2 separate regions of the Homo sapiens genome follow, and region 1 is linked to region 2. Evidence: promoter capture Hi-C in 16 types of primary human blood cells and fetal thymus (Javierre and others, 2016). All regions are on one chromosome and are shown on one strand. The core of a region is centred on a gene start or on the middle of the fragment in contact, and the rest is flanking DNA. Distances in the headings are between cores, read along the strand shown.

Region 1 (2,713 bases), core at 82-2,581, 400 kb after region 2:
AAGAACACCTGTGCTTTAAAACCAACAGCATGGTGTAGTAGAAAAAGCCCTGAGTTTACACTGAGAAGCACCAGTATTTAGCAAGAAAACGATTTGATTTTGGGGTTTTTGTTTTTGTTTTGGAGATAGAGTCTCATGGAGTGCAGTGACACAATCACAGCGCACTGCAGCCTCAAACTCCTGGGCTCAAGCGATCCTCCCACCTCAGCCTTCTGAGTAGCTGGGACTATAGGCATGTGCCACCAGGCCCAGCTTTGGTGAGTGAAGGGAATAAACTCTGGAGGTTGGAACAACGACTTCTTAAGCCAATAGATGGTAGCATGATGTGTACGACTTGAATGATTCCGTGTGATTGAATGAAAGAAAATGCACAACGCAAGCTGTAAGCCTCAAAAAGACTTTTTAAACATCCACAAAGAGCCCAGGCTGGAAGTCAGGAGGCTGAAGTTCTAGTCTTGACTTTGCTCCTCCCTAATTGGCTGTAAGACCTAAGGCAGGTCTCTTAACGTGGCCGCAGTTTCCTTCTCTGTGCTATCATAGAGTGAGACCAAAACTAGCCCTTTTTGCTCTCAGAAGTAGAAAAGGATGGCAGCTCATGAGATATATATGTAGAATGCTTGGTACTGTGTAATTGTTAAAAATTATTACTTGTGGATGTTTCTGATGTGCAAAATATGCAAATGCCAGTAACATCCAGTGTGGACAGACCTGCCCTTCCTCCTTCCATGATACGTACCAAGGGCACTTGGACCTCTGACCAGGTGATGTTGGGCATGGCGGATGCAGGCTGCAGCAGCGTTGTGGGGAAGAAAAGGTTGTAGTGGCCCGTGGCTGCCAGGTACAAAGTCACAGTGATATTGAAGGGCAGTGTGAAGACTGGGAGGTCCCACTTGCTGAAGATGGTACCCAGGGCACTGGAGAGGATGGGGCTGATGGCAGAAGCATGAGAGATGCTGGTCAGGAAGCCGCCTGGTCATAACACTAGACTGTGCTGCAGTGGGGGCTCCCTGTGCCTTCCTAGAGAAAAGCAGCCTGCTGGGTATTCTCTGGAGCCTGACTGGCCCTGAGCAGGTCTTTCCCTGGGCCTCTTCCTCCCTGCACAGTGACAGGGTGGGGCACCCAGACTCAACTTCAGAAGAAGATATAAGGCAGGCAGTCTCAGAACTTCCTTCAGGAATCCTATAGCTCCATCCCCAGGCATCAGGTTGGGGAGGCCGAGGGGAGGGAATCACATTCATTCAACAAATGTTTTTTTGAGTGGCTGTGTGCATGGGCTTTGTGGCCAGGGTGCCCTGTGTTTTCTCAACATGGGGTAGAGCAGGCACTGAGGGCTTCCCCATGGCTGGGCCTTCAGCCTACCCTGGGAGGTGGTCTTGGTCTGCTCAGGGGTCCCAAGGATTTAGAAAAGCCGGGGTAGGGGAGGGTTGAAAAGATTTCCAGAAACTGACAGGACCCTATAGTGCAGCTCTTAACCAATGTGGGCCTCAGTTTCTTTCTCTGCACTCTGGCAGGGTGAGACCAAAAACCATTTAGATCTTAAAAGAATAATAAAGGGTGGTCGCTAATGGGATACTGTGTATAGACCTAGCATGGGGCTACCATGGTATAAACTTAGTTATTAGTCCAGTGGACATTTCTGATGTGCAAGCTAAATACATGCCACTTTAATATCACGTTTAGACAGACGGTCATGGGATTGGGATGAAAAGGTTGGTGGCCATTGATATGAACCCACAACCCTTCAAAAGCAAACTTACCAAGACATGGACATGATGATGACGGGTAGCAACAGCCACCAGTAGTAGTCACCTTTGTCTGAGAACACGGCCATCAGCAGCCCCACCAGCACCCCATTGTAGCCGTGAAATCCTGCAGCGATGGCCGACCTGGCAGGAGAGGGAGGGTCAGGTGGAGCAGGGGCTTCCCCAGGGCCCTTTACATTTTCCTATTGAGTCAGATTCTTTTTATCTGGGGCCTGACTACACACGCCTTCAAATAGACCACCCTTCTGGGAGTGGGGAAGGAAGACAACCCTATGAATCCTTCATATTTCTCTAGAAATATGTTGCTATGACAAAATAACCAGGGAACAGTCATTTTTAGTTGTCAGTGTCCTTATTTTGAGGATTTCTCAGCTGGGAAGAGGAAGAATGGTCCCCATGGGGAGTGACTTCTTGGCTACATGTTTGGACCCTGAGCCTCTGGGACTTACTTGTCCTGACTCAGGATGAGGGCTGTCAAGGTGGACATGATGGTACCCAGGCAGCCTGAGATCGCCCACCAGGGGTTCTGGATGAAGAGGCCGAGGATGATGAGGATGCCGCTGAGGGGGTTGTTCACAAACATCACTTGAGATGTGCCTCGGAGGACCCAGTCAAAGAACTGGAACACTGGGGACTTGTCTGAAATGGAACCGGGGCAGGAAGTAGGCAAGTGCTCAGTGTGGGCAGCCCTGGGTGGGCAGATGGAGGGTGTGAGGGAATCTGGATATCCGAAGTGGGTTTGCAGGAAGCCAGCCACCTGCTGTCACCTGCCACCAAAGATGGTAAACAAGGAACTCAAGAGAGCATCTGACTGCCAAGAAAACTCTTGAGACCCATCACCAGCCAGATGTGACCTCCAGGTTGTTTTTCTGGCAGGGGGGATTAGGTGCCCTGAGCTGCCTCTGACCCCTGTGGTGGTACCATGAATTTTCAAGAACATGTTCTTGCTG
Region 2 (2,700 bases), core at 68-2,567:
GCAAGTACGTAAATGGATGCATCCCTTGGAGATGCTTGGTGGCTGGAGGCCACCTCTCCATCTTTGCAGTTGTGGATGACTTTATTGGTGGGAGTTCATCTGAGTGGGGCTGGCTGCAGTTTTATGGAGCAGAACTTGTTCCAGGTGCTTCACATAATTCTAGCAATTGCCCTTTCACTGTGTCTGGGTGTAGCTAGAACCTGCTCCAGGGGTGAGTGCTTGCTTCTCCAGGCTGGGCTGGTGCCAGTCTTGGCAACCTTGACCTTTATCCTCCCCACTTTGAGCACCTATTCCTCTGCCCAGGATGGATCTGCCCCAGGAAGGATGTCTGTCTTTGCATCTATTTAGAAGGGCAGAGCTCTAACCTTGAGCTCTTCATCCCTTAAATAAACTGTGATCTTGGGCAAGCCATTCAACCCCTCTGGGCCTCAGGTTGGGCTTCGGGCCTGTCGCACCAGGCAGTACTTTGTCATAAGCCCTGCATTACTATTAAAAGTCATGGCAAAAACCGCAATTACTTTTGTACCAATCTACTACAATGCAGAGAGGGGTCTGACCTGCCCTGGGGTTTTATTTGTGAGGGTGGAAGAGTGGAGGGAGAAGAAGGAATCTTGGGCCCCTCTTGCTGGGGTGGAATGGGCAGGGAAGGGTCTTGCCTTTTGAGAATGGAAAGGGAGTCAGAGAGCGGCTGAGCTCCTGGAAGCCCTGTTAGGACACCACCAAGTGACTAGAGTCAAGGGGAAACAGCAGAGATGACCTCTCCATGACATTTTAGACTAAAACGTGACCCCATTCATTAAAAACACCTGCAACAACAAAAAGTAAAATAAAAAATGAACCGTCCCCCAGGGCCTGATCTGCAGCAGGTGCCGGTGGGGCCCGCCGTGAAGCCAAGGCGTCTGCGGGAGTTGTCGGCCCCAGGCCTTCTGTAGCTTAAACCGGGTCCTCGCGACCATCTGATCAGATCCCGTCTATCACCCCGCAGAGCCTGGATTTCGTGCTGTCCAGGGGGCCTTGTGGGCAGGAACCCAAGCCAGGACCAGTTATTTCCAATACCCAAAGACTTCCAGAAGGAGGCAGCTAGCTTCGGGCTGATATATTGATCGTGGCCCGACGCTGTGGGGCTTTAAATGGGCCTGGGTCCGGGTGCGGGCTGCAGCCCCTGGCCGGGTGAGCGCCGAGGGTCCCGCCCAGGTCTCGCGCAGGGAGCGCAGAGCGCCGACGGCGGCCGTCGCAATCGGGAGTGGTTTAGGACCCGGGGGCGGCTTCCCTGCGCGAGTGTGGAACGCAGAAGTTGAGTCTGCGGAGCCGCGGGCAGTGGCAGTCAGGCCTCCCCGCTCTGTGCTACCTGCGGCCCGGCTCTCCTCCGCGCCCCCACTCGCGCTGCGATGACGCGCTCACTGTTCAAGGGAAACTTTTGGGTAAGTCGTGGGGCCGACAGCGGATCGCGGGGCTCAGGACCCGGCCCGGGCGGGAGGCCAACGCGGCGGGCGTGGGGGGCTCCCCAGCTCCGGCGCCACTCGGTGACCGCGCGCCCGGGGGCTTGGCGGAGCTCGCGCGTGAAGGGATCGGGGCCCCAGCCCCACTGCTCGAGGGGCAGACTTGGAGCGGACGCCGGGCTGCTGTTCCCTCTCTGTCCCCCGCTACCCACCGCGTGCCCGCGAGTCCCGGGGGCTCGGACTCCAGGGCCCACCCTCTGCCGCCCGCGCCCCCAGCAGCGCGTGCTCCTGAGGACGCAGAGAGCCGAGACACCTTAGAGTCAGGACATCAACCCCTCCTCTCACAGGCGAAGCAGAGACCCTTAGGGAGGCGAGACCCGTCCGGGGAGAGTCTCTGCCGGTCCCTGGAGCTGAGCCGTGAGAGGATCTGGGGGGATCTGGTGTGGGGGCTTGTGAGCTTTACCGGGTTGACAGCAGCAGCTGCCCCCCGGGATCGTCCTTTCCAGGAAACGTACAGCATAGAGGGCTTCCCTTTGCTGGAGCTTTCCCTGTTCTACAGCCTTGTTTCCCGAGCCCCCTCCCCAGGCCATTGCCCCAGCCCTTCCGTCCAGGCCCCATAGCGGGGCTGATGGTGTGGGAGACCCTATAAGCTGGAGGGGGTACCCCACCCAGCCCGGTAGGGCCAGCCCAGCCTGGAGGGAGCAGGTCTGCCTGTCCCCCTCCTCTGTCTAGTCCTCTTCCCTCTGTCCTCTCACTCCCCAGGTGCCCCTCAAGGTCCATGCCCCCTCATTCAGAGGAGCTGTCCTCATCCCTTTAAGACAGGAGCAGGAGGCTGCAAACCTCAAAGTTGACCGCAGCTGCCAAGGGGCCCTGACTCCTTACTGGGGCTCCTGCTTGCCTCCCCCCACCACCCACCCAGGTAGCTTCACAGCTGCCTAGATGGTCCCTCTACCCCACGTGGGCTGCAGGGTAGAGAAACCTGGCTGGGGACCTCAGGGACACAGTTGAGACTGTGCCTGTGAGTCCCTTCACTGGAGTTTGTGAGGTCCTTCTGGGGCACTACTCACCCTAGGGTGCAGGGTGGTGGCAGCCTCACAGAGGAACCAAGGGCACCACAGATGGCTCTCACGGGAGGCTTGCGAGTTTTTCAGGTAGAATGGAGGACTGGGGGATCCCATGGCAGGCACTGTGGGAAAAAGGCTCTGTATAATACAAACTGGAGAATGAGATGTGGGCCCCAGAAATAAGGAAGTCAGCAGAG

Evidence for each region. The method cuts DNA at HindIII sites, captures the fragments that hold promoters and counts their contacts. A CHiCAGO score of 5 or more calls a contact.
Region 1: a fragment that was not itself captured here is called in contact with the fragment with the promoter of PSTPIP2 in region 2 in 2 of 17 cell types (erythroblasts and monocytes); the score reaches 7.8 in erythroblasts.

What each region holds. Positions count from the first base shown.
Region 1 is chr18:45,667,522-45,670,234 of GRCh38, reverse strand. SLC14A2 (solute carrier family 14 member 2) reads right to left here. Exons shown (of 20, transcript NM_007163.4): 14 at 2,213-2,402; 15 at 1,758-1,886; 16 at 737-929. The region is part of intron 7 of LOC105372093 (a long non-coding RNA gene); the gene reads left to right. Among named protein-coding and RNA genes, the nearest start is that of SLC14A2, 53 kb to the right of the region's middle. The HindIII fragment of the contact is 7,663 bases long and covers 1-2,713 here.
Region 2 is chr18:46,070,877-46,073,576 of GRCh38, reverse strand. PSTPIP2 (proline-serine-threonine phosphatase interacting protein 2) reads left to right here and starts at 1,317. Exons shown (of 15, transcript NM_024430.4): 1 at 1,317-1,421. The coding sequence starts at 1,389. RefSeq lists silencers at 1,022-1,181, 1,312-1,361, 1,402-1,781 and enhancers at 911-1,412, 2,632-2,691. The HindIII fragment of the contact is 16,135 bases long and covers 1-2,700 here.